Regions from separate parts of the Homo sapiens genome. Here all the other regions are linked to region 1. The links are contacts of gene promoters, found by promoter capture Hi-C in blood cells and fetal thymus (Javierre and others, 2016). All regions are on one chromosome and are shown on one strand. Each heading gives the region's core, a stretch centred on a gene start or on the middle of the fragment in contact. The rest is flanking DNA. Distances are from core to core; before and after follow the strand shown. Region 1 holds the start of LIF (LIF interleukin 6 family cytokine). Region 2 holds the start of CABP7 (calcium binding protein 7). Region 3 overlaps NF2 (NF2, moesin-ezrin-radixin like (MERLIN) tumor suppressor). Region 4 overlaps NF2 (NF2, moesin-ezrin-radixin like (MERLIN) tumor suppressor). Region 5 overlaps NF2 (NF2, moesin-ezrin-radixin like (MERLIN) tumor suppressor). Region 6 holds the start of NIPSNAP1 (nipsnap homolog 1). Region 7 overlaps NF2 (NF2, moesin-ezrin-radixin like (MERLIN) tumor suppressor).

The links. The method cuts DNA at HindIII sites, captures the fragments that hold promoters and counts their contacts. A CHiCAGO score of 5 or more calls a contact.
Region 2: a contact is called between the fragment with the promoter of CABP7 here and the fragment with the promoter of LIF in region 1, in 6 of 17 cell types (M1 macrophages, M0 macrophages, erythroblasts and 3 more). The highest score is 12.1, in M1 macrophages.
Region 3: a fragment that was not itself captured here is called in contact with the fragment with the promoter of LIF in region 1 in 6 of 17 cell types (M2 macrophages, M0 macrophages, M1 macrophages and 3 more); the score reaches 10.2 in M2 macrophages.
Region 4: a contact is called between a fragment that was not itself captured here and the fragment with the promoter of LIF in region 1, in 1 of 17 cell types (M2 macrophages). The highest score is 5.5, in M2 macrophages.
Region 5: a contact is called between a fragment that was not itself captured here and the fragment with the promoter of LIF in region 1, in 1 of 17 cell types (M0 macrophages). The highest score is 5.5, in M0 macrophages.
Region 6: the fragment with the promoter of NIPSNAP1 here is called in contact with the fragment with the promoter of LIF in region 1 in 1 of 17 cell types (neutrophils); the score reaches 5.9 in neutrophils.
Region 7: a contact is called between a fragment that was not itself captured here and the fragment with the promoter of LIF in region 1, in 1 of 17 cell types (M2 macrophages). The highest score is 6.1, in M2 macrophages.

Annotation. Positions count from the first base shown.
Region 1 is chr22:30,245,408-30,249,024 of GRCh38, forward strand. LIF (LIF interleukin 6 family cytokine) reads right to left here and starts at 1,352. Exons shown (of 3, transcript NM_002309.5): 1 at 1,270-1,352. The coding sequence starts at 1,288. It overlaps LIF-AS2 (LIF antisense RNA 2), which reads left to right and starts at 803. Exons shown (of 1, transcript NR_148946.1): 1 at 803-1,586. The HindIII fragment of the contact is 10,846 bases long and covers 1-3,617 here.
Region 2 is chr22:29,717,890-29,721,336 of GRCh38, forward strand. It overlaps CABP7 (calcium binding protein 7), which reads left to right and starts at 2,114. Exons shown (of 5, transcript NM_182527.3): 1 at 2,114-2,644. The coding sequence starts at 2,536. CABP7-DT (CABP7 divergent transcript) reads right to left here and starts at 2,014. Exons shown (of 3, transcript NR_186695.1): 1 at 1,659-2,014. RefSeq lists an enhancer at 3,423-3,447. The HindIII fragment of the contact is 23,163 bases long and covers 1-3,447 here.
Region 3 is chr22:29,685,550-29,689,422 of GRCh38, forward strand. The region is part of intron 15 of NF2 (NF2, moesin-ezrin-radixin like (MERLIN) tumor suppressor); the gene reads left to right. Among named protein-coding and RNA genes, the nearest start is that of CABP7-DT, 32 kb to the right of the region's middle. RefSeq lists enhancers at 2,675-3,176, 3,177-3,676. The HindIII fragment of the contact is 1,644 bases long and covers 1,695-3,338 here.
Region 4 is chr22:29,664,753-29,668,575 of GRCh38, forward strand. It overlaps NF2 (NF2, moesin-ezrin-radixin like (MERLIN) tumor suppressor), which reads left to right. Exons shown (of 16, transcript NM_000268.4): 9 at 238-312; 10 at 3,581-3,694. Among named protein-coding and RNA genes, the nearest start is that of CABP7-DT, 53 kb to the right of the region's middle. The HindIII fragment of the contact is 4,563 bases long and covers 293-3,823 here.
Region 5 is chr22:29,619,381-29,623,287 of GRCh38, forward strand. The region is part of intron 1 of NF2 (NF2, moesin-ezrin-radixin like (MERLIN) tumor suppressor); the gene reads left to right. Among named protein-coding and RNA genes, the nearest start is that of NF2, 18 kb to the left of the region's middle. The HindIII fragment of the contact is 427 bases long and covers 1,805-2,231 here.
Region 6 is chr22:29,578,683-29,582,570 of GRCh38, forward strand. NIPSNAP1 (nipsnap homolog 1) reads right to left here and starts at 2,431. Exons shown (of 10, transcript NM_003634.4): 1 at 2,303-2,431. The coding sequence starts at 2,400. RefSeq lists an enhancer at 1,592-2,204 and a silencer at 2,188-2,237. The HindIII fragment of the contact is 18,053 bases long and covers 1-3,888 here.
Region 7 is chr22:29,640,432-29,644,054 of GRCh38, forward strand. NF2 (NF2, moesin-ezrin-radixin like (MERLIN) tumor suppressor) reads left to right here. Exons shown (of 16, transcript NM_000268.4): 4 at 1,771-1,854. Among named protein-coding and RNA genes, the nearest start is that of NF2, 39 kb to the left of the region's middle. The HindIII fragment of the contact is 9,111 bases long and covers 1-3,623 here.

The DNA.
Region 1 (3,617 bases), core at 102-2,601:
TCTCCGAAGCCAGGCACCCATGGGGGCCACGGGGCATGGGGGAGTGGGGAGGAGTCCTCGGTTGACCCTCATCTCCCTCCCAAACCTGCCACTTGATTCTGGCTCCCTGGGCCAATTGCCCCCAATTCTGCCCCCGCCCCCATCATCCTCTATCTCTTCCTTCCCTAGTGTCCCCTATCTCACTCAAGCTCACCCCATTTCTGCCTGGCTGTCCCCACTCTCCATCCCCAAATCATCATTCAAAACTCTCTGTTCCCCCAGCTCCGGACAGCCCCTGACTCCATGCCTTCTCCCGACTCATCCGCTGTCCCTTGTCCCAGGGGTTCCCCTCCCTCCTAACACACACACACCGGCTCAGGGAGGGAGAGGAAATGGTGCACCAGGAGAGAGAAAAGGCAAAAGGTCATAGGCAGTCGGGTGGGCGGGGAGGAAGGAAAGTGAAAGGTGACAGGAGAGCTGGGAGCTGTCCCGACATGTCCTGGTTTGCCCCTCCCCCAGGGGGGCCTGTTCTCCCGACTCCCCCCAGGCCCCCTTAGACGCTTTTCCAGGGCTCTGCAGAAGGGCACCTGAAGATGGTGGGGGCCGGGGTCAGCGGGCGAGTGAGGCTGGAGACCTCCCCCGGATCCCCCATGCTGGAACAGCGGGGACAGGGGCCTCCTCAAGTTCACTTCTCCTGGGTCCCCTGTTCGTCCCAGCATCCCAAGGCAGTGCTGAGGCCCCGGGGTGGCTGCGGGAGGGGGGCCACACCCCTATATCTCACCTAGCGCAGACCACACGCTTCCAGACACCAGCAGATGGAGGCGGCACCTGCTCCCGTCCCAGGCCGGAGTTTGCAAGCTGCTCGCCGCCCGCGCCCCTCCCTGGGAGCAGCCCGGGACCGCGGTTGGAAAGGAGAAAGCGGAAAGAAAGAAAGAAAAGAAAAAGAGAGAGGGAGAGTGAATCTGGGAGAAAGCGCAGAGGGAAGAGCAGCCAGCGAGTGTCCGGAGCGAGGAGGAGGAGGAGGAGAAGGAGAGGGGGAAGAAGAGGAGGAGGAGGAAGGCTCGGCGCCCCCTCCCTCGCCGCCAACCTGCCGCGGGGCGTGCGGTGCTTGGGACCATGTGCCCGCGCTCGCTCCGGGCCGCCACCCAGCGCCTCCGGTGGCTGCGCGGGCGCCCCAAGTGTTCGTGTGTCTGCGGCGGGTGGGCGTCCGGCTCGCGCTGCCAAGCGCCCCAAGTTGCCGCCGCGCCCCGCAGCGGGGACGCGAAGCCGGCGCGGGGCGGGTGTATTTACCTGCCGCCAAGACCTTCATTATGGGCTGCACTTCAGAGGGCCTTGGAGGAAACCTCAGATGCCGGCAGTTTTCAGAGGTTCATGCTCAAATGGGGAATTTGCCTGATTTATATACTGGAGCCTGTGTTGTAAGACAGAAACAGCTATATTTAGCCGGGATCCCCAGTCCAGGAAGTTGTTTGAGGTGCATCATAGGAAATTATGAATGGAAGAAAGTGAGAGTGAAGGGGGGGGACGAGTGAGGGGGGAGGGTGGGGAGAACAGACTTTTTCCCTCTTCTAAGAATTTGATTGATAAAATTATAATGAAGCCTTCGACAAAACGCCCTGTGGTTTTCCTGCCTGGCTTGTCCCGGGAGTTGTCTGAAGATGGGCATCGCCAGGAGGGGGCCCCTGGCCGAGTCAGCAGGGGTCCCAGCAGTGGGCGCCCCAGACGGCCCTGACTCACCTGGGTTTGGGGAGGTAGCGAGTCTGGACTAGCAGATGGAGACTGGCCCCTGTGCCCCCTGGTTGGGGGGCTTTAGGGGGGCAGTGGGAGGAGGAGGGCTAGGGCTTGGCTGAGAAGGAGGCTCCAGGAGGAGGGGCCGGGGCCGGCGTGGACTTTAGACGGTCATAAAGTGGAACTGAACATGGGCGCTGGAAGCCACCCCAGAGGTAGCCTCCTCCAATCTGCACATTGCCACTGGGCCCCAAGGGGCTCCGAGGGGAACACGTTGCCCAGGGCCCCAGAGGGTCAGGCCTCCAGACACCACCAGTGCACTCGCCCTGCTGACCACTGTACCTGTGAGGCTGGGGAAGGGGCTAGGAAGACATGGGGGTAGGGGTGACTGACTCAGTTCTGTCGGGACACTCTGGGAAGGTGCTTCTGGGAAGGCGGTCCAGCATTTCCATTCTGAAGCAGGACTGAGAGAGGCTTGGCGAAATCGTACCCCAGTTTCCTCCTCCGGGTGCTGATTGATGGTTGGGGAAACTGAGAAGTGGCTGGTCCCTTCCAGACCTGCCTTGGAAGCCCCTTTGAGCCCAGCCTCAGAGAATGATGGAGGTCCCCAAAAAGTGCTTCTAGAGGCTCTAAGGCAGTGTCACATGTTCTGGCGTCTTCTGAGGCCAGGCGATTTGTGAATGAGGAAGGGCAGAAAGGAGCAGTGGGGAGCCGGGCAAAATGAGCACAGGGACACCTCCAAGAAATGCAACAGAAAAGTGAAAATAAATACACCCTATGAGATGCGGGAATGCCGGCCAGACAGCATGGCCACGCGTCTGGGGCCATGCCGTCCCTAAAGCTGCCAGGGGACCCCCAGTACCAGGAGATGATTTAGTCCCCTGTGGCCCCTTCCCAGCCCTTCCGCCTGACCCTGACCTGAGATCAAGGTGTGTGAGTTGGTTTTCCAAGGCCAGGGAGCTCTTGCAGCCTCGCCCGGGCCCCCACCGCCCCCTCGCCCATCCTCCATGCCCCCAGTTCCTGCCTCTTGCCACATCCCAGACCTGCCCAGCCACGGGTTCCTCCTTCATCGTGCCAGGACGAGCCCTGGTGCCTGCTGCCGTTCCCCACCACACACACACCCTGCTTTATCTACGCTCTTGCCCCCCATTCTCTCCCAGCAGGGCCTCGGATGTGAGGTGATAAAACTGCCCATCCCAGCTGGCACTTCCCGAACTGGCTCTCCTTCCTCCTTCCTGCCTCTCACCCCACACCTTGTCTCTTCTTTGAGGGACCATGGAGGGCCCCACTTGGCACTTACTGCTCCTATACACTTGCTCTGGGGTCAGCGTACACTACTAGGAGACTCACCTGCCCTGGCCTGGCTCAGGTAACCCCACATCCCAGGACACCCCAGCTCAACCCTTCTTCTTACACCTCCCCCAGCATCTCCTGCACAAGGACCTGACCACTCAGAGCACGTGAGCTCTGGACCAGTCCCCAGTCCCATCCCACATCACCCAGACCCCTGCCACCTGACTCAGCCTGGCTCTCCTGACATGGACCCCAAATCCATGTGACCAGGGGCTCACTGTGGCCTCCACCCATCAAACCCCCGTCGCCCGGCCTGAGTCTCTCATTAGGCTCAAGAGTTCTGCAGCTGCCCCTACATCTACCATTCTGCCCAGTCTCCCCTGCATCCTTCCAAGCGGACCCCCAGGCCCTTGCATGCCTTCTGGCAAGCCAGACCCCACATCAGCCCTATAATCCACCCCCAATCGCTGTTTAATCTCAGCCCCACCCCACAGGAAACAGGAAGTGAGGACAGGGTCTAGAAGACACTGACACTAAGGCCCCTTAACCCCAGCCCTGACTGGCCCCTCCAGTGCCTCAGTTTCCCCTCCTCTCACGGTACCTGACTTGGTTTGTGC
Region 2 (3,447 bases), core at 864-3,363, 530 kb before region 1:
AGAAAGACTCCACCTAAAAAAATAAAAAAAAATACCCACCTGGACAGCAAGCCCAGGAGCTTCCCCTTCACAGGGCGAGTACCAACACGCTCTGCAGCGGCCTCCCAGGGAGTCACTGGGAGCTGGGTTTCCTGCCAGCCTCTCAGCAGGCTCTAGCCCACTCTCCCTTGGCCCAGGGGTTCTGATTTAGAACTGACAGGCCTGGGCTGGCACAGCCTGGACACTTAGTAAACGTGGAACGACTGAGCTGCTGCTGCGGCTCGCTCTCTCAATCAATACTCGAAGCTATAATTATTATTAATTCCTATTCCTTGGGGGGGATGTTCATGCTAATAGGAAACTCCCAAGAGTTTCAGGGAGGTGATGCCCGGCACCTTTCCTACATTATGTCACTTCATCCTCACCGCTGCCTGGGATGTGGCACTGCCACCTTAACAGGCAGGGAAACTGAGGCTATGGCCGGTTAAGGGACCTGACTGTAGTTCCATGGTGAGGAGATGGTGGATGCAGAAGCCCCAGTCTGCCTGGCTCTTGGTGCTGGGTTCTTACTTCCTCAAGTCTCTGCTCCATCAAAAACACTGGGGAAGCTCAAGGCATTCAGCTCTAGCGGTGGAAGGTCAGAAGATGGGACAGGTGGGCAAGGAGAGCTTTGGAGTGGGGTGGGAGCTTTTCTGGGGCCTCTCTCACCTCCAGGCCCAGGTCCCAGTGGGCAACCAGCTAGCCCGGAGAGGTCTGGGGAGACAGACAGACAGCTGGTGTCCTTCCTGGCTCCTCCGCAGGTTATAGATGTTTCTAGGAGCTCCCTCCAGAGCAGGGCCCAGGAAGTGCTGGGCCCAGGCTGACCCAACCCCGCTTGGCTGGGGCTAGCATCTCTCACTGAGCCCCTTCTCCCCAGACCCTGAGACAAGGCTGCGATTAATCAGTAACAAAAACAGAAACAAGCAGAAAAGTGTAATCAGCTTGGGAAGGGCAGGGCAGGACCGGGCAGGGCTGTGCAATCAGCGTTCCTGCTGGGACCTTTAGCTGATTGGGCCAAAGGGGGCAGGGAGGTGGTCCCAGTAGGGGGATTCAGGGAAGCACCCAGAGATGGGGCCACAGCCAGGCCAGAAGGTCACCCCCTCCCATGCACATCTGTGCACCATATGCCCACACCACTCCCAGCCCCAGGGCCTGCACACCTCCCCCGACCTGCCAGCGTACAACCTTGGCACACACAGGTGGCCACACACTCCCGACATTTGTCCATCTGCATATGGAGTCACAGACACCTGCGCACGTGCCCAGTGGCACATACACACCCTCATGGATAGCAGACATATGCACACGCAGGCTGCTCCCTCAAACACCTGCCCCCACCCCAGCTCTGGGGTGCCGACGTGCCCTGGGGCCTGGGGAAGCCCTGCACATACATTAGGTCTGAGCTGCAGCCATGTGAACTGGCAGGCCCTCACACCAGACCCCACAGGCACCGGGCCATGTCTCTGTCCCGAACTGCCCTGGGGGCCATGAGACACTTTGGCTCCTCTTCTGCAAGCTGAAAGGTAGGGGCTTGGGAAGGGTCCGGGACTGGGGCCCCATTGTGGGGAGCAAGGTCAGCGGCAGGGTGTCAGTCACAGGCAGGGCAGGAAGCCTACCCCAGACGTGTACCCAGCTCTTACCTGCTGCTCCTGCCCTGTGACCTTGGTCAACGTCCTTCTCTCTCAGCCTCAGTTTCCCCACCTTGGATCCTCCTGGCACGGAAACGGTGACTCTTCTTGAGGACCCAGGTGCTTGGGGCCAGTCTCACCTCTCTGGGTCTACAGTTCTTAGTTCCGGGCTCTCCGCTCCTGGTGCGTGGATGGGGGAAGGTGAGCCAAGGGGCAGGAAGGAGGACCCCCGCAACCCACCCCCTCCCTGGTCCTGGTGGCTGCAGACTTAGGGTGAGGAGAGCCAGTGAACAGAGGGGAGCCCTAGTGGGAAAGGGGAATCGGGGCCGAAGGGGAGAAGGAGCCCCGGGCAGGTTTGGGGCGGCCGCTCAGGGGCCGGCGGCGGGAAGGGGCGGGCTGGGGGTGGGGAGCGCGGAGGGGGCGGGCGGGCGGCTGGCGGGGGAGGCGGGGAGCGCAGCCAGCGCGGCACAGAACGAGCGAGCGAGCGAGCGGAGAGGCGGCTACAGCCTGAGCGCCGGGCCGGTAGCGGCCGCGCCGGCGAGCGGACTAGCGGGCGGCGAGCAGCGCGGAGCGCGCGGGGCACCGAGGAGCGGGCGCGGCGGGCACCGCGCGAGGCAGCCGGAGCTCTCGGAAAGGCCAGAGCGGCGCCGCCCCCGCTGCCCCTGCGGGGCCCCGGCTGGGAGCCCGACGAGGGAGCGGGCGGCATGGCCCGGCGGCCCGGGGCGCGGGGGCGCTAGGCCCCCGGAGGGGCGTCCCCAGCCTCGCCGCTGCCGCCGCCGCCCTCCGCAGCCGCGCGCCCCGCCCGCTCCAGCCGCCCCCGGGGCCGCCACCGGCCCATGAGCCCCGGCCTCAAAGTTTGCGGCGGGCGGGCGGGCGCGGAGCCTCCAAGATGCCGTTCCACCCGGTGACGGCGGCGTTGATGTACCGGGGCATCTACACCGTGCCCAACCTGCTGTCGGAGCAGCGCCCGGTGGACATCCCGGAGGACGAGCTGGAGGGTGAGTGTCCGCCGGGATCCCCGCCCCGGCGGCCCTCCTACCTGTGCGCCCAGGTGAAGCGCGGGCCAGGGGCGCGGGGGCGGGGGGCGGGGGGCGGTCCGCAGGTGCCGGTTGCCAGGTGGGCGCCCCAGCTAGCAGCTGTGCCCCGCGGCAAGACCTGTCCGCACCCCGGGGCGCCGCGGTGGGGGTCGCTCAGGCGGAGAGCGGCCCAGCCCCTGCCCGCGTGGTCCCCAGCGCTGCGGAAACTTGCCGGGCCCCGCAGCGGGGTCACGGGGCCGCGCAGTCGGCGGTGACGGTGCGGCAACGCGGCGGACTGGGGCGGGGGTCCGCGCTGAGCCCCCAGCGCCGGCCCGGCCGGAGCACCCGCATCCTGATCCCCTCCGCGGCGCCCGCCCGCGGCTCTCTGCTCGCATTGACATTCCGCTCGTGTCGCTTTAAAAATTCAATCTGCTCGGGCAGCAGCAGAAGGGGAGAGGGCGACTGCCCTGCTCTTGCCCGCTGCGGGGCCGCCCCCGTCCCCACCTGCGGCCGTAGCCCCTTCCCTGCAGCCCTGCGGGGACCCCCAGCCCGGCGCGCCGGGAAGGCGGCCCGGGAGGCGGTGGCGACAACAAGTGGCCGGACTGGGCGGCTAAGTCGCGATAGCCAAGCCTGGAAGGGAAAGGCAGAGAGGCCAGGACCCAAACCCGCCCCCACCCCGTTCCCCCTGCCTCTCAGACTCGCAGGGGGATGGCAGGCCGCTGGCTGGGCGAGGTCAGAGCAGAGGGCAGGGGCAGGGGTCCGGGACAGTGTGTCCTGAGGAGCAG
Region 3 (3,873 bases), core at 1,267-3,766, 560 kb before region 1:
GGCATTTGCCACCATGCCTGACTGATTTTTTTATTTTTATTTTTGTAAAGATGGGTTTCGCCATGTTTCCAGGCTGGTCTCGAACTCCTGAGCTCAAGTGATCTTCCTGCCACAGCCTCCCAAAATGCTGGGATTACAGACATGAGCCATCTTGCCTGGCCATTGTATTTGTCCTCGTTTTCAGTACTCTTCTGCCTCACTGAGAGGTCTCAGAGTCTGCTGTGTGGTTTCAGCAGTACCCATGGGGGCTGTGTAACATTGAAGCTGATTCAAGGAGTTTGCCCTTAGGTTACCAGGGGTTACCGCATTCCCTGAGGAATGCTGAGCGGCCATCCAGTCTGATTAACCGAGGTTCCTACTTCTCTGCCACTTCCTTTCTCTATAATTCTTACTCGCTCGCTCTCTCTTTTTTTTTTTTTATTATACTTTAAGTTCTAGGGTACATGTGCACAACGTGCAGGTTTGTTACATATGTATACATGCAGCTATAAAAAAGGATGAATTCTTACTCTCTCTTGAGGCACAGTGTCCTCACCTGCAAAAGGTGGATAAAAATAGTCTTTGCCCCCAGGAGTGTTGTGAGGAATAAATGAGAGAATGTGTGTGCAACACTCAGTGCACAGTCAGAGCTCAGTAAGGGGTTAAAACTCTGAAAAGGGAAAATCTGCTTGTGATCCTGCAGCAAAGGGCGAAGGACGGCATGTGGGCCACACCGCCACATCTAGGTACACTGCTTGTGCTGGGCATATTCATTCATTGTATTAATTGCTACGTGGCTGAAAGTAAAAACTTTTAAAAAGCCATAATTGGCCGGGCACAGTGGCTCATGCCTATAATCCCAGCACGTTGGGAGGCCGAGGCAGGTGAATCACCTGAGGTCAGGAGTTCGAGACCAGCCTGACCAACATGGAGAAACCCCGTCTCTACCAAAAATACAAAATTTGCCAGGTGTGGTGGCGCATGCCTGTAAACCCAGCTACTTGGGAGGCTGAGGCAGGAGAATTGCTTGAACCTGGGAGGTGGGGGTTGCAGTGAGCCAAGATCGTGCCATTGCACTCCAGCCTGGGCAACAAGAGCAAGATTCCATCTCATAAATAAATAAATAAATAGCCATAATTAACTTCACTGTTTCCTTGTAATATTTCACTTGGGTTTGCAAGGATGTATTTTTCTCCTCTTGCTAATCTTAACTTCCTGTATTTCCATTTTTCCCAATTGATGATCAGTACAACTAGTTTGCCATTTGCATCTGAGTCAGAGCAGTGCTAGCGATCAAAAGCCGCCCTGGGGAACCTGGAATTGTTTCATTCTCAGTGGGAGCGACACGTGTCCTGGCATCTGAGCCTTCCGAGTGAGGGGAGTGAGTCTGGCCATCAGGCTGGGGTTGAGGGACACAGGGTGCCTTGAGCCTGGCTTTCGTGCCTTCAGAGCCACAGTGCCAATGATGGGAGTGGTGGCTTGGTGTGGCGTAACTGTACCACCATACCTTGATGGTAGAATGCAGTCCTGGAATATATACATTCAGGGTCTTTCTTTCATCGCTTCTCAAGAGAGGGGTTTCAGTCTCCCGATCCTGAGCTGGTCTGAGTGCCAGCAAACAAAGTCATCACTTTTGTGCCTGTGGTCTCCCAAGGAGCACAGGATTTCCAAGGAAATTGACGGATGAGAAATCATGGGGGTGGTGGAGCTTAGAAAGCTTATTTCATTAGTAAATGGTTTGAACCGTCAAGGTCCAGCTGTGGTTTCCACTGATGGAGGAACAGGAAGAAGAGGAGCCTTGACATTTATCTCAAGCGCCAGCAGCTTCTCTTGGATCAGGAAGACATAAAAGTCCAATGTCATCTTCAATTTGTGCAGGCTCCCCTTGGAGTTGCAGAGCCAGTGAAGTGAAGTAGAACAGTTAAAAAAACACCCGGGGAAGTGATAAATCACAGAGAGAGATTGCATATGCGGGAAAGGTGTCTCCCACAATTAAAACAAGTGGCCAGAGCCTCCCTGGCGACCTCTGGTCTGCATTGCCAGCCCTGAAGATGGCTCCTAAATTACTTAAGTTTAATAGGTAGTTAATATAGCCAACCCTCCTTATGACCCCAGTGGGCTGAATGGCTCTGCTTGCTTTAGGAACTGGGCGTTGTATGGTAGAGCATCTTGGCCTTGACATAAAAGGTAGCATACTGGCTCCCCAGCCCTGAACCTTCCCTGCTAGAGCAAGGCAGGGGTGAGAGGGGGAAGGAAAGAAAAAGGAGTGGGGAGTGGGGTGGGGAGCAAGGATTAACAGGGAGCAGTAGCAGCACCAGATGTGGGCATAGCACACTGGGAAGAAATTGCAGTGGCGATCTGAACTCTTCCTCTCCGCCTCCTGGCTCTGTGGAAGCCCAGGGAAGGCATTAGGAACTGCAGGCTGCTCTTAGTGCTCCTCCCGGATGGGACACCTTGGGCTCATCCCTGAAGGCCACTCCTACCACTCTCACACACTGAGTTCCTGGTGTCTCGTAACTGTTGAGAGCTTAGTTTTCTTGCTTGTTTCTGGTAGCTCTAGATAGAAGACTGTATCGGCCTCTTCTAAAAGTCAACAAGCCAATCCTGTTTTTGGTTAAGAGACTTTACCTGGTCAAGCAGTTGTTCTTTGGGAGGTGTTGAAGAGCCTACAAACCTGCCTTGCCTGCCTAGGTACTTTACCACCATTTGGAGATGCCTGAGGATATTACCAGGCCTTATTTGAGGCAGTAAAACACCCTGTTCGGCCCCTCGGCACTGAAGATGTGTTTCAGTGCAGCTCTCCTCGGCACCGGATTCGTTGCTGCAACAGTGGGAGGGAAGAGCCAGATGCAAACTCGTTCTGCGAGCCCGAGGTTCTGTTCTCATGATCCTTGCTGTGATTTCTCTTTTGATGTTGGCAATTTTAAAATGACATCAGTCTATCTGGACCTTTTTCCTAAGGCTCTTGCTCAGACCACTCAGTAGATAGCCGCCACCTGCCCAGTGAGGTGAATCAGGCCCATTAGGCCATTTGTCAGGGGAAGGAACAGAGGAGCAGCGGAGGGCCCCGCCGGCCAGTGCCACAGGGCAGCCTGCAAAGCAGGTAGACAGGTTTTCAGGCAGCTTTTGCTGCTTTGGGTCCCTCAGGGATTAATACACAAAAAGGGCCCCTTGGGTATTCAGTGGCAGATTTCTCTTGAGAGCAGATAAAGTCGCTAATAACAAATTGGATTTGTTCATTGGGGTGGACTTGGCCTTTCGTTCCACCTCTGTGTAGGATAAGTGTGTGGATAGTGCTCCCACTGTGCACATCACCATATGGCATTTGGGTGCAGCTGTCCCTAGCCAGACTGCAGAAAAGCTTGATCTGGGCCGGACGCGGTGGCTTATGCCTGTAATCCCAGCACTTTGGGAGGCCGAGGCAGGCGGATCACGAAGTCAAGAGATTGAGACCATCCTGGCCAACATGGTGAAACCCTGTCTCTACTAAAAATACAAAAATTAGCTGGGCGTGGTGGCATGCGCCTGTAGTTCCAGCTACTCAGGAGGCTGAGGCAGGAGAATCACTTAAACCCAGGAGGCAGAGGCTGCAGTGAGCGGAGATCGCGCCACTGCAGTTCAGCCTGGCAACGGAGTGAGACTCCGTCTCAAAAAAAAAAAAAAAAAAAAAAAGAGAAAGTAAAGAAAAGCTTGATCTGGCCACTTAGTACAGCCATCCCCCTTTACTGGCCCTTCCTCTTTGCTTATTTGGAAGGGGGAAGGTTTCCCACACCCCAAACCAAAGATTCTTTTGGAATTTGCTGCTGCTGGATTCAGCTGTCACCTTTCTGCTCTGAGTCTGCTTTCTCCCTGTGGATCCGGTGCCAGAGGATCTGCACGTCCTTTTGTGTCTAC
Region 4 (3,823 bases), core at 1,324-3,823, 580 kb before region 1:
CCCACACTCATGCCTAAGATGGTCTAGAGAGCGTACCTTTAGGGTCCTGAGCTTCCACAGCCCGAGACTTGGTGCTCCTAATTCCCTGAGGTTTAGTGCCTGGATACTGGGAAGCCAGGACAAGGCATAACTTCATGCTGGTCTGTGGCCAGTGTGGTTGCGCATTTGTGGAATTTCCAATTGCTGGTAACATTCCAGGCTGTCGGACTGAAACTGTGTTCTGCTTCATTCTTCCAGTTTACTATTAAACCACTGGATAAGAAAATTGATGTCTTCAAGTTTAACTCCTCAAAGCTTCGTGTTAATAAGCTGGTAAGTTGAGATCCTGGTTTTCATTACTGATAATGGTAGCTTTTCTGAGAATTGAATACTTCTTTTTAAAGGATATCAGAGTGACATCTTGTGAAGTATAGAATGGTATCTCACTTGGCGCATACTTTCTGTTTAGCTTAAAGAGTTAAAACTAAATTATATCATGAAGAAGTTTTTTTTTTTGTTTTTTTTTTGAGACAGAGTCTCGCTCTGTCGCCCAGGCTGGAGTGCAGTGGCAGTGCCATCTCGGCTCACTGCAACGTCCGCCTCCCAGATTCAAGAGATTCTCCTGGCTCAGCCTCCCAAGTAGCTGGGATTACAGGCATGAGACACCATGCCCAGCTAATTTTTGTATTTTCAGTAGAGACGGGGTTTCACCATATTGGTAAGGCTGGTCTCGAACTCCTGACCTCAGGTGACCCATCCGCCTGGGCTTCCCAAAGTGCTGGGATTACAGTCATGACCCACTGCGCCCAGCCGATGAGGAATTTTTAAAAAGGATTTTTAATGCAGTATTTCATACATATAAAAGGATAAGTGTAACATATGAATTATAAAGAATAACAAAAGTGAATAGCTGTGTACCCACAACCCCACTTTAAGAAATAGCACAGTCCTGGCCGGGTGCGGTGGCTTACGCCTGTAATCCCAGCACTTTGGGTGGCCGAGACGGGTGGATCACAAGGTCAGGAAAAAAAAAAAAAAAGAAAAAGAAAAAGGAAAAAAGAAATAGCACAGTCCCAATACTGTTGAGACCCTTCATGTTAACACCCTGCTGGTCTCTCCTTTCCCTCTCCCCAAGGGTGATCACTGTTTTGAGTTGAGTATTCATCATCCTCTTGCTTTTCAACAGAATTTTATTTCATATATGGCAAAAGAAAAATACCATTCAATGTCATATGTTTATGAAATTTATCTAAATGCTGTCAAGTATATATATTCTTTTGTCATTTTCCTTTTCCTTTTTCATTATTTTTTTGAGATATATCTTTGTTGATGCTTAAAGATAGTCTGTTCATTCTCACCTCTGTAGCACTCTGTTATATATTTTTCTGATTCTTCTGTTAATGGATAATTAAGTGCTTTTTACTTCTATACTTTTTTTTTTGAAATGGGGTCTCACTCTGTTGCCCAGGCACAATCTCGGCTCACTGCAACCTCCGCCTCCCGGATTTAAGCAATTCTCCTGCCTCAGCCTCCTGAGTAGCTGGGATTACAGGCGGCCACTACCACGCCCGGCTAATTTTTGTATTTTTAGTAGAGATGGTGTTTCACCATGTTGGTCAGGCTGGTCTCGAACTCCTGACCTTGTGATCTGCCCACCTTGGCCTCCCAAAGTGCTGGGATTACAGGCGTGAGCCACTGCACCCAGCCACTTCTATACTGTTTTAACAGGCTGTTATGAAAACTTTTGTATCTGCCTCCTGGTGCACATAGGCAATAGTTTCTTTGGAGTCTTGAGTATACTGGGCTAGGTGGGGTGGCTCACGCCTGTAATCTCAGCACTTGGAGAGGTCAAGGCAGGATAACTGTTTGAGGCCAGGAGTTCGAGACCAACCTGGGCAACATAGCAAGACCCTGTCTCCAAAAAAATGAAAATAAATAAAATTTTTAAATAATAAAAAAGAGGGCCAGGCACAGTGGCTCAACTCCTGTAATCCCAGCACTTTGGGAGGCTGAGGCAGGCGGATCACCTGAGGTCAGGAGTTCAAGACCAGCCTGACCAACATGGAGAAATCCTGTCTCTACTAAAAATACAAAATTAGCTGGGCGTGGTGGCGCATGCCTATAAATCCCAGCTACTTAGGAGGCTGAGGCAGGAGATCGCTTGAACCCAGGAGGTGGAGGTTGCAGTGAGCCGAGATCATGCCATTGCACTCCAGCCTGGGCAACAAGAGTAAAACTTCGTCTCCAAAAAAAAAATAAATACATAAAAATAAATCAAAAATAGAGCTTAGAGTATATACACAGGAGTAGAAGTACAGGGCTTGGTATATGTTTAAATTTCAAAATTATGACACATTGTTTTCTAAAGAAGGTGAATCGATTTTTACAGACCCAACAGTAGTGGGTGAAGTTTGTTTTTTGCTATCCTTAATACTTGTATTATCAGCCTTTTAAAATTTTTGCCAATCTTGTGCATCTAAAATGGTATCTCATTATCAAATGAACTTTTTTTTTTTGAGATTTTGAGATAGGGTCTCACTCTGTTGCCCAGGCTGAAATGTAATGACACGATCATGTCTCACTGCAGCATGGACCTGCCCAGGCTCAGTGATCCTCCCACCTCACCCTCCCCAGTAGCTGGGACTACAGACACACACCACCATGCCCAGCTAATTTTTTGTATTTTTTTTATAGAGACAAAGTTTTGCCATGTTGTCCAGGCTTGTCTTAAACTCCTGGGCTCAAGCAATCTGCCTGCCTCCCCTTCCCAAAGTGCTAGGATTACACTTCCCAAAGTGCTGAGCCACCAGGTCTGGCCAAATGTTTTGAGTTTTTTGTGGAGATGGCGTCTCACTATGTCACCCAGGCTGGTCTTGAACTCCTGGGCTCAAGGATCCTCTCACCTTGGCCTCCGAAAGTGCTGGGATTACAGGTGTGAGCTACTGCACCTAGCCTGTTTTCTTTATTGGCTATATCTTCCAGTTTGTTGCTCTTTTTCTTTTTTTATGTCTTGACAATAAGAATTTTTAATTTTAATGTAGACAAATATATACATTTTTTCCTTAATCACTTTTTGTGTCTTACTTGGCATCTTCTCTTATCCTATGATCATAAAGATATTCTTCTATATTGTCTTCTAAAAGTTTCAAGGGCTTAATCTTTGCATTTAAGTATTTAATCCTTCTGGAGTTGATTTTTGTGTAAGGTGTAAGGGAGGGATACAACTTATTTTTTTCCACATGCATAACCTGTTGCCTCAGCCCAGCTTACTGAACGAGCTTTCCTATCCTCCCTGGTCTGCAGAACCACATCTTGATGTAGGAGAGTAAGGTGCACCCAGAAGACATGGTGAAGTGTCCTCCAGTCCTCTCTTGATTTATGATTTTTACCTCCTGGCATATCTGAGGCGCCTTCATTTTGCATGTTTCCAGAGCTGACGGCACTAGAGGCCACTAGTAGGGCTTTGGTGTTTCACTCTATGCATTCATCTTCACGTTTACTGCTACCTGCAAGAGCTCAAACTGCTATGGCACTAGTGGGCCAGTAGGCAGTGAAGTAAATTTGTGGATATTAACCTTTTTGTCTGCTTCTGTGGCCACAGATTCTCCAGCTATGTATCGGGAACCATGATCTATTTATGAGGAGAAGGAAAGCCGATTCTTTGGAAGTTCAGCAGATGAAAGCCCAGGCCAGGGAGGAGAAGGCTAGAAAGCAGGTGAGCACAACCTTGTTTTAACTGATGATGTCACTGTGTGGTCAGTCCTGGCCTGGGAGGCGAGGAGTGGTCATGGGCTGGCAGGAGTCTTTTGGCCGTGGACATACCTGCTCTTGTTTTATACCTTTT
Region 5 (3,907 bases), core at 768-3,267, 630 kb before region 1:
GTTTTTTTTGTTTGTTTGTTTGTTTGTTTGTTTTGAGATGGAGTCTCGCTCTGTTGCCCAGGCTGGAGTGCAGTGGCGTGATCTCAGCTCACTTCAACCTCTGTCTCCTGGGTTCAAGCAATTCTCCTGCCTCAACCTCCTGAGTAGCTGGAATTACAGGTGCCTGCCATCATGCCAGGCTAATTTTTGTATTTTTAGTAGAGATGGGGTCTTACCATGTTGGTCAGGCTGGTCTTGAACTCCTGACCTCATGATCTGCCTGGCTCGGCCTCCCAAAGTGCTGGGATTACAGGCATGAGCCACCGTGCCCGACCTCTCCCATGGGTTTTAAGTAGTGCCTATGGATGGCATGGGTGCCACTACTCAGGTCTAGGACAGGCAGGGGTGAGTGATGAGTGCGTGCGTGCTGATGAAGGGGTGCGAAGAAACAGATGCTGGCTAGTGCTGCCCTCCACTGGACCCCATTCTGCCTTTGTGTGGGACAAAGGGCTAGGGACTAGCAGTTACTTTGTGCTAGGTACCATGCTAAATGCTTTAAATGCACACTACCTCATTTGATATAACAGGGACTCATTTATTCATTCAAGAGATATTATAAAATAGGCTAGGCACAGTGGCTGACACCTGTAATCCCAGTGGGAGGCCGGGGTGGCCAGATCACTTGAGGCCAGGAGTTCGAGACCAGTTTGGGCACATGGTGAAATCCTGTCTCTACTGAAAACACAAAAATTAGCCAGGCGTGGTAGTGGGCGCCTGTAGTCCCAGCTACTCCGGAGGTTGAGGCAGGAGAATTGCTTGAACCTGGGAGGTGAGGGTTGCAGTGAGCTGAGATCGCGTCACTGCACTCCAGCCTGGGCGACAAGAGCGAGACTCTGTCTCAAAAAAAAGACAATAATTAGGCGTGGTTGTGCGCACCTGTAGTCCTAACTACTTGGTAGGCTGAGACAAGAGGATCACTTGAGCCCAGGAGTTCGAGGCTGCAGTGAGCTATGTTCGTACCACTGCATGAAGCCTGGGTGACAGAGTGAGACTCTGTCTCTTTTATTTATTTGTTTTTTAAATAATAGAGACAGGGTTGGCCGGGCATGGTGGCTCATTCCTGTAATCCCAGCACTTTGGGAGGCTGAGGCAGGTGGATCCCTGAGGTCAGGAGTTCAAGACCAGCCTGGCCAACATGGGAAAAACTCGTCTCTACTAAAAATAGAAAAATTAGCCGGGGGCAATGGCATGTGCCTGTAATTCCAGCTACTTGGGAGGCTGAGGCAGGATAATTGCCTGAGGTGGAGGTTGCCTGAGATTGAGCCACTGCACTCCAGCCTGGATGACAGGGAGAGACTCCGACTCCAAAAAAAAAAATAGAGATGGGGGTCTCCCTACGTTGGTTGCTCAGGCTGGTCTCAAACTCCTGTGCTCAAGGGATCCTCCTGCCTCAGCCTCCCAAAGTGCTAGGATTATAGGTGTGAACCACCACACGCAGCTCTGATTTACTGGGTGCCCACGTTGACCAGGCAGGGAACACCTCCTAGCAGTGATCAAGGACTACTTTGGACCTAGGTTCTGTAACTGACTTCATCTTTAAGTGGGGAAACAGAGGCTCAGACAGGATACATAGCATGCTTAAAGGCTTAGTGCAGCCACTATCTATTCTGAAAGAGGCAGAATAGGACAGGGACAGGTAGGTAGTGAGAGAATAGGGAGAATAGATGGGCACACCCTTTAACTTAATATCGACCAGTAAAGCCTGCAGTTGCTTATTTGAACCTCACATTGAGGCTGACATGTAAGTTGAGCAAATCTTAACTCAAGCTTCAGTTTCCTTGTTGGGGCCGCTGAGGCAGCATAGCCTAGAGATTACAAGCATAGACTTCAGAGTTTGATTCCTGGCTCTGCCTCTAACCAGCTTTGCAACCTTAAAGCTCCTTAACCCCCTCACATGCCTCTGTTCCCTAACTGTAAAATGGTGAATGTAATTAATTCTTCCTGCATAGTGTTACAAGAATTAAATTTGAGTAATTACTGGTAAAGTACGTAGAATAGTACCTAACACAAGATAAGTGCTATATATAATGGTTGTTACCTAAAGAAATAACAGCCTGGGCAACATGGCGAAACCCTATCTCTACAAAAAATACAAAAATTAGCCGGTTGTGGTGGTGTGCACCTGTGGTCCTAGCATCTCGGGAGGCTGAGGTGGGAGGATCACATGAGCCTGGGAGGTCGAGGTTGCCATAAGCTTCCTGATTGCACCACTGCACTCCAGCCTGGGTGACAGAGTGAGACCTTGTCTCAAAAAATAAATAAATAAAATAAATTAAAAAAATAAAAAGGAAATAAGTTCAGTGCCTGTCGTTAGCTTGCTCCCTTTCTCAGCCTCTCCTCCACTTCCTCACGCACCCTCTTGCTCTGAGCCTATTATCCTGGTCCCTCCTTCACACTGCCACATCTTTGCATAGGCTGTTCTCTTTGCCTGGAATGCCATTCTCATTTGTTGCTTGGCAGAACTGAACTCATTCTCCTTCTAGGCTCTGCTCAAGGGTTTCCTCTTCTTTGTGTCCAAAGTCACCACATAGCTTCTAAGTGATGGGACTGAGATTTGAAGCCAGGTCATCTGTCTTTCAGGCCAGCCCTCTTTCCACTACCCTATGCTACCCAAATAGGAAGCGTAAAAGAGAAGTAGGAGAGAAAAAGTTAGAAACCTGGAGAGAACTTAGGTATTTGGTAAACAGGAAAAAGAAAGTGGAAAGAAGAGATCATTTGAAGGACTTCCTCAACTTAACAACTATTTGCCTATGGCATTATTTTATTGCATTTGGTGTATGATACTATCTCAAAAGCATTTTGTAAACTTGCCAGTGGCTTACATTTTTGCCGGATGAATGACATGACTAACGATCCGTGCTACATTACCTCAGTGTCTAGTTTGTCATTTTGAATCAAGTGGACATTTTCTGTAAGTGAATCATTTTCACTTGCTCATGATATAATGAGAATTCCTTACCTTTGGCTTAAAATGAGGCTTATGTTATAACAGTTAAGCATTGTCTAGTTGCATATTTAACATAGTCAGAATGCTCCTGCCTGTATTCAGCCTGGTGTCTTATAATATTTGGTATGCCCACCTAGATAGCAATTGGTAACATCTTTATTCTGAGACTCTTTCATGTATGGATTTTGAAAAGTTAGTTAACTGTTCAGACGACATTGTTTCTTTGACTTTTACAATCCGCTTCCCTCTCACTGACAGTTCAGTTTTGGAAGACCCTGTATTTTTTTTTTTTTTTTTTTTTTTTTTTGAGACAGAGACTCGCTCTGTCGCCCAGGCTGGAGTGCAGTGGCGTGATCTCTGCTCACTGCAACCTCCACCTCCCGGGTTCAAGCAATTCTCTTGCCTCAGCCTCCTGAGTAGCTGGGATTATGGGTGTGCACCACCACACATGGCTAATTTTTGTATTTTTAGTAGAGACGAAGTTTCACCATGTTGGCCAGGACGGTCTCGATCTCCTGACCTTGTGATCAGCCTGCCTCGGCCTCCCAAAGTGCTGGGATTACAGGCGTGAACCACCGTGCCCGGCCTTTTTTTTTTTTTTTTTTTTTTCGAGATGGGGTCTCACTCAGACTGGAGTGCAGTGGTGCTATCACAGCTCACTACAGACTTGACCTGCTGGGCTCAAGTGATTCTCCTGCCTAAGCCTCCCAAGTAGCTGGGACTACAGGCACATGCCACCAATACCTGGCTAATTTTTTTGAAGAAATGGGATCCCGCTATGTTGCCTAGGCTGGTCTGGAACTTCTGGGCTCAAGCGATCCTTCCGCCTCAGCCTCTCAAAGTGCTGGGATTACAGGCATGAGCCAACATGCCCAGCTAGAGATGTGTGTGAATTGGTAGCTTCAAGCTAGATATTGGAGG
Region 6 (3,888 bases), core at 1,181-3,680, 670 kb before region 1:
ATAAACATTAATTCAAGTGGCTTCATAGCAATCCTGCCGAAAACACCAACATCCCCACTTTACAGAAAAGGAAACTGAGGCTGACGGAGGTTCAGCAACTCATCCAGGGTCACTGAGTGAGGGGCAGCAGGCTGACTCTGAGACCCATGCTCCTTTTACAGCCTCTGGGTGTTTGCCACACAAATGGTTTTACCACCAATCCATTCTGTCCCTTCCCCAATCTTGATATTTTTATCTGGAAAACAAAGGGCTCATAAAAGATGATCTTCCCAGAGCCCTTTGAGCCTCAACATTATGTGGGTCACATGCAGAAATTGCTTGAAACATAGGCTAGGGGTTAAGGAGCAACACTTACTGCATGTTCGTCAAGTGCTAGACACTTCACAACCACGGAATCTTTTTTTTTTGTAGACGGAGTCTCGCTCTGTCACCCGGGTTGGAGTGCAGTAGCGTGATCTCGGCTCACTGCAACCTCTGTCTCCCGGGTTCAATTGATTCTCCTGCCTCAGCTTCCTAGTAGCTGGGATTACAGGGGTGAGCCATCACACCCAGCTAATTGTATTTTTAGTAGAGACACGTTTTCACCAACATGGTGAAATTTTTGTACTTTTTTTTTTTTTTTTTTTTTTTTGAGACAGAGTCTCACTCTTGTCGCCCAGGCTGGAGTGCAGTGGCAGGATCTCGGCTCACTGCAAGCTCCGCCTCCTGGGTTCACGCCATTCTCCTGCCTCAGCCTCCTGAGTAGCTGGGACTACAGGCGCCTGCCACCGCGCCCAGCTAATTTTTTGTATTTTTAGTAGAGATGGGGTTTCACCGTGTTAGCCAGGATGGTCTCGATCTCCTGACCTCGTGATCCACCGCCTCGGCCTCCCAAAGTGCTGGGATTACAGGCGTGAGCCACCGCGCCCGGCCATTTTTGTACTTTTTATAGAGACAGGATCTCGCCGTGTTGCCAAGCTGGTCTTGAACTGCTGACCTCAAGTGATCTGCCTGCCTCGGCCTCCCAAAGTGCTGGGATTACAGGCATGAGCCACCATACCCGACCAACCACAGCATCTTTAATCCTCAACAACCCTATGAGATACATCCTGATTACTCCCATTTTACAGATGAGGAACCCGAGGCTTAAAGAGTCCTGAGGTCACCCCACCTACAAAGTCTGAGTTAGATCTGTTAGTGCCAGGCAAACTCTAGGCTTTTCCCACGGTGTCAGCTTTATCCCTAATTATTGGGCAGTCTAGGTGGGGCGCTTATGCCACTCCTCTTTCCCAGCTGTCCAAAAGCCCCACTGCTCTGTGCTGTAACATCTCATGGCAGGCACTATCAGAACTTTGCAGCTTCATTCCTGGGCTGCAGGGCAGGAGGGATGGTTGCTTCCTTTTCACAGGTTGGGGGAGGGGGAACAGGTGGCCTCACTTCTTTGGTAAATATTCCTTGACCATACACAGTCCTGAGCCCTCTGAGGGTGGGAGGCTGGGGAAACAGAGAAAAATGAGATCATGGTCTAGTGAGAGAGACAGACAAGCACCAAGTCATAACTGTGCAGGGTCATATATGCAGAGATGGGGGAAGTACAGGGCTGTGGGGACCAAGGAGTGAGGGGCTGCCCAGGGCCAGTCAGGGAGGCCAAGCCCTAGCTCAGCCCAGAGCAGGGCCCAAACAAAAGCCCAGGCTGAGAGCACATGGCCCAGCCAGACTCCCACTCCCAGGAGGCCACCAGTTGGGTGCAAAGTGCATGGCGCATTGGCAGGCCTGGGTCCCAGACCTGGTGCTGCCACGGCACAGCAGGGAGGGTGACCTTGGACAACTCCCATTCCCTCTCAGGTCCGTTTCCCCACCTGTACAGTTCGAGGTGGAGGAACAAAGGGTCTGTGCAGCCATGGCCCCTGGGGATCCCCCACTGCTCCCCTGCCATCATCTCTTTCCCACAGAACTTCCCGACGGAGGAGCTGACTACCAGAAGCCCCCAGTGGGTGTTAAATCACAAGCTACGCCTGGGAATGGGCCACTCCTCCTGTCTTCTGCCCTCTCCCACTCTCCAGGGCCCAGTACCTGCCCTTCTCACCATCTTTCATCAGGTCCCCATCACAGCCCGGTCCCAACCAGGACAAAGACCCTACCCATCCCTTTCTCACCTCCCCCATTCTTTGCCCAGACCCCTCCCTAGGCCTTGATCCTGCCCCGCCTCTAACCCCCAGATTCCAAGCGAGGAGTCTCAGCCCCTCCCCCACGACCCAGTCCCTGGCCCCCGCGCCTGCACCCCACCCCGCGCGCGTCTATCCCTGCCTGGCCGGGCTCTCACCGCGCCGCAGCTGCAGACGCAACGTCCCCAGCGCGAGGCCCCGGGCCCCCCAGCAGCCGCCGCGCCGTCACAGAGATGCTGCACAGCCGCGGAGCCATGTTGGAGCCGCAAAGGTTGCAGGAAGGCCCCGCCCCCAAGCCCTGGTGGCGGAGGCGGGGCGCGAATAAACTCCACCCCTCCGGCTCGCCCGCCCCCTCACTCACCCGGTCAGGTGGGCGTTTCCTGTGGGCGTCTCCAACTCCGCAGGTGCTGGACGGAAGTCAGGGTTCTAATCCTCTGCGCGCTCTGCGACCTTGGCAAGCCCTTTGCCCACTCTGGGCCTCAGGATCCACCTCGGTAAAATGGGAGCGTGGAACAATAATACCAAGGGTTCTTTTTTTTTTTTTTTTTTTTTTTGAGACGGAGTCTCGCTCTGTCGCCCAGGCTGGAGCGCAGTGGCGCGATCTCGGCCCACTGCAAGCTCCGCCTCCTGGGTTCACGCCATTCTCCTGCCTCAGCCTCCCGAGTAGCTGGAACTACAGGCGTCTGCCACCACGCCCAGCTAATTTTTTGTATTTTTAGTAGAAACGGGGTTTCACCGTGTTAGCCAGGATGGTCTCGATCTCCTGACCTCGTGATCTGCCTGCCTCGTGCTCCCAAAGTGCTGGGATTACAGGCGTGAGCCACCATGCCCAGCCTACCAAGGGTTCTTAACAAGGCTGTCCGGGATGTGCAGCAGAGGGTCAGTGTAACCACCCCATGGGTTCATTTTGCCCGTTTCCCAGACAGCGGATTTATCAAGACAGAGGAATTGCAATAAGAGTTTAATTCATGCAGAGCCGGCTGAATGGGAGACCGGAGTTTTATTATTACTCAAATCAGTCTCCCTGAAAATTCGGAGACTGGGTTTTATTAAGGATAATTTGGTGGGTAGGGGCCAGAGAGTGGAGAGTGCTGATTGGTCAGGTCGGAGATGCAATCATAGGGAGTGGAAGCCGTCCTCTTGTGCTGAGTGGATCTCTGGGTGGGGGCCACAAAACCGGATGATCCGGTTTCTTAATCTGTGTATCGCCAGCGGATCCATTGAGTGCAGGATCGGAAAAATATCTTGAGCACCAATCTTAGGTTTTACAGTAGTGATGTTATCCCTAGGAGCAACTGGGGAGGTTTAGAATCTGTGGCCACTACCTGCATGACTCCTAAACCGTAATTTCTAATCTCGTGGCTAATTTGTTAGTCTTACAAAAGCAGTCTGGTCCCCAGGCAAGAAAGGGGTTTATTTTGGGAGAGGGCTGTTATCTTTGTTTCAAAGTTGAACTATAAATTTGCTGCCGGGCATGGTGGCTCATGCCTGTAATCCCAGCATTTTGGGAGGCAAAGGTGGATCAGAAGTTTAGGTCAAGAGTTCAAGACCAGCCTGGCCAACAGGGTGAAACCCCGTCTCTACTAAAAATACAAAAAAATTAGCCAGGCATGGTGGCGGGCACCTGTAATCCCAGTTACTCGGGAGGCTGAGGCAGGAGAATCTCTTGAACCCTGGAGGCAGAGGTTGCAGTGAGCCGAGATCGCGCCACTGCACTCCAGCCTGGGCAACAAGAGCGAAACTC
Region 7 (3,623 bases), core at 1,030-3,529, 600 kb before region 1:
ATTACAGGTTGACCATCCAGAGGCACAGGGAGGGGAACTGGTCTGAGGATGAAAACCTTATCAGTTTCACTTATGTTCTTACTGCAGGTCAGAGTGGCTCCCCAGTTTCATGGCCAGTTGCAGTGATTGGCACTGGGGCTATTTGTGTGCTCAAAGGTTTCAGTAATGTAAAAGATGGCAGTAGGGGCATTAATTACATGATTTCCCAGAGATAGTTGGGTAGTCTGTCACATAGCCCTCCTGTAATTAATTTCAGCCTCAGTATATTGTGGTCAGCAAATATTAAGTTAAATATAATAAAACCCCCTAAATTCTTTTTAAAAAAGGTCTGGGGGGCGTGTGTGTGTGTGTGTGTGTGTGCACGCGCAAAAGAGGTGACAAATTTATTTCTGATGTTTGCAGATCAAAGGGACACTCTTAGGCTGGGCGTGGTGGCTCATGCCTGTAATCCCAGCAATTTGGGAGGCCGAGGCGGGTGGATCACCTGAGGTCAGGAGTTTGAGACCACCCTGACCAACATGGAGAAACCCCGTCCCTACTAAAAATACAAAATTAGCCGGGCATGGTGGCACATGCCTGTAATCCCAGCTACTTGGGAGACTGAGGCAGGGGAATCACTTGAACCCGGGAGGTGGAGGTTGCAGTGAGCCGAGATTGCGCCATTGCACTCCAGCCTGGGCAACCAGAGTGAAACTCCTTCTCAAAAGAAAAGGGATGTTCTTGCAGTTTTTCTATAGCGTTGCTTTTTCCCCCCTCTCTTTGGAAATGAAACCAAGGGATTAGAAAGTTGCACTGCTTGAGAAACATCTCAGGTTTCATTTTCTCTCTAAGAATGTAAAATCACTTTTAAAACCTAAGAAGAATTTTTGTGTTTGAACGTAAACACCTAACAATCTCCTAGGTCCCAGAATGTCCTAATGTTATAGAAATGGCTTTCTTGTAAGTACTTGGAAGCACTGCCTGTCTCTTGTGTGACTGACTTGATTTTCCCCATACTGAAATGTTAAGGCATTTTTATGACTGAGCAAGGCAAAATTTACTGCTTTTATGAATCCGGTGACTGTTGACATCTGTGAGAGGAGAGCTGGCTTTCCTGCTGTGTTTATTTCAGTGTCCCCCTGCCACGTCATGCAGTTGTCTTGCTTCTGTGTCTGGAACATCCCAAGTTGCACCATTCTAAGAAAATTAAGTGCAATGAAATATGTTAATTCAACATTATGGCTTAAGAATTATATTTCCTGGACCTCACGTGTACTTAAAAGTTGAATCGATCAAATTTTATTGCTTCCTTTTCCCTTAGAGCAGCACGTTGAGAGTGATGGTTTTTTCTGCAATCATAACTCAGTGGCCTTGGTGACTTTTGTCTTGTGTTAATACTTAAAAGTAGATCCATTTCCTCTGGGGCCATGCATATTCAAAGGGGCTGAGGCTGTAGTCATCCCCAGAGCTGCTCTTGACACTTCTTGAGTTCATAGCGCTCTGTCACACAGCCTCTGTTGTAACTACAGAGACCGTTTTTACTCTTCAGCATTGATCATGAAGAGAAGAGATAAGGGGTTTTTATGCATAGCCGTCATACCAGTAACTTCTGTGACTGAACTCTCCACCTGTCTGCATCAGTAAAAAAAAAATTGTACCCTTTGTCAGAAAATTATTAACAGGCTGCTCTGGCAGCCCTCATTAGAACGCCGTGAGGCCATCTGTTGTGATCAGCCTACACACCTCACTTCCACTCACAGAGTATCATGTCTCCCTTGTTGCTCCTTTCAGGTAAAGAAGCAGATTTTAGATGAAAAGATCTACTGCCCTCCTGAGGCTTCTGTGCTCCTGGCTTCTTACGCCGTCCAGGCCAAGGTAGGCTCAAAGAAGAAAAATGTATTTTTCCTGGGCGTTAATTTGGGTCATGGGATCACTCCTATCTTCTCTTTCTTTGGGTTTTCTGTACTTCAGAGAGACTTGCCCCAGAAAGTGAGATGTTATGGGACTTGTGGACTTGAAGAACCACTGTCACTGTTCCAGTGTTTGTATAATCTTGTGTGTGTATGTGTGTGTGTGTGTATGTGTGTGTGTGGTGTGCAGAAATTATAAGTATCGTTCTAATGAATTAGAATTCATTCTAAGTGAATTCATTCAGAAAGATGAATTTCCTGTGTAATCTCATTATGTACATGTGGTTTATGACATTTACTGGAAAAACCTTTTTTCTTTTTTTTTTTTAAACCATAAACTCAACCATGTGGTACAACCTTTCTATTAGCCAGGAAAAATGAATTTATGGTCTCCAATTTTAGCCAAACATGGCCTTTAGGTCAGAAAGGCCCAGGTCCTCACTCCAAACTCATTTGCAAACAAGCTGCCTTGTGTGTGGACACTACACTACACCTTCAGAGAATGCCCTGCTTCATCTGCCCCTGATTGACATGCTAGCTGTTCATGTGGCTAAGCACTGCAGGTGCTGTGGCCCACCAAGCCCACTTGAGCTGTCTGGTTAGCTGAAAATCGTTCACTTCCGTTAAATCACTATAGACCTTTTTTTTTTTTTTACAAGACCGATGAGAGGGTTAGCCACGGAGTTTCATGTCCCTCAGATTTTTCACTTCAGTCATATATCACCTTCTCTTGGTTCCCCTGATCCCTGCCTTTCACCAGAGCACAAGATGTTGTCCCCAGAATTGGGGCTCCTTGATTACTTGTGTGATTTTATTTTATTTATGTTTTATTTGTATTTTTATAGAGATGGGGTCTCACTATGTTGTCCAGGCTGGTCTTGAACTCCTGAGCTCAAGTGATCCTTCCACCTTGGCCTCCCAAAGTGCTGGGATTACAGGTCTGAGTCACCATGCCTGGTCTTACTTGTGTGATTTTTTTTTTTTTTTTTATTGATCATTCTTGGGTGTTTCTCACAGAGGGGGCTTTGGCAGGGTCATAGGACAATAGTGGAGGGAAGGTCAGCAGATAAACAAGTGAACAAAGGTCTCTGGTTTTCCTAGGCAGAGGACCCTGCGGACTTCCGCAGCGTTTGTGTCCCTGGGTACTTGAGATTAGGGAGTGGTGATGACTCTTAATGAGCATGCTGCCTTCAAGCATCTGTTTAACAAAGCACATCTTGCACCGCCCTTAATCCATTTAACCCTGAGTGGACATAGCACATGTTTCAGAGAGCACAGGGTTGGGGGTAAGGTCACAGATCAACAGGATCCCAAGGCAGAAGAATTTTTCTTAGTACAGAACAAAATGAAAAGTCTCCCGTGTCTACTTCTTTCTACACAGACACGGCAACCATCCGATTTCTCAATCTTTTCCCCACCTTTCCCCCCTTTCTATTCCACAAAGCCGCCATTGTCATCCTGGCCCGTTCTCAATGAGCTGTTGGGCACACCTCCCAGACGGGGTGGTGGCCGGGCAGAGGGGCTCCTTACTTCCCAGTAGGGGCGGCCGGGCAGAGGCGCCCCTCACCTCCCGGATGGGGCGGCTGGCCGGGCGGGGGGCTGACCCCCCAACCTCCCTCCCGGACGGGGCGGCTGGCCTGGCGGGGGGCTGACCCCCCCACCTCCCTCCCGGACGGGGCGGCTGGCCTGGCCGGGGGGCTGACCCCCCCACCTCCCTCCCGGACGGGGTGGCTG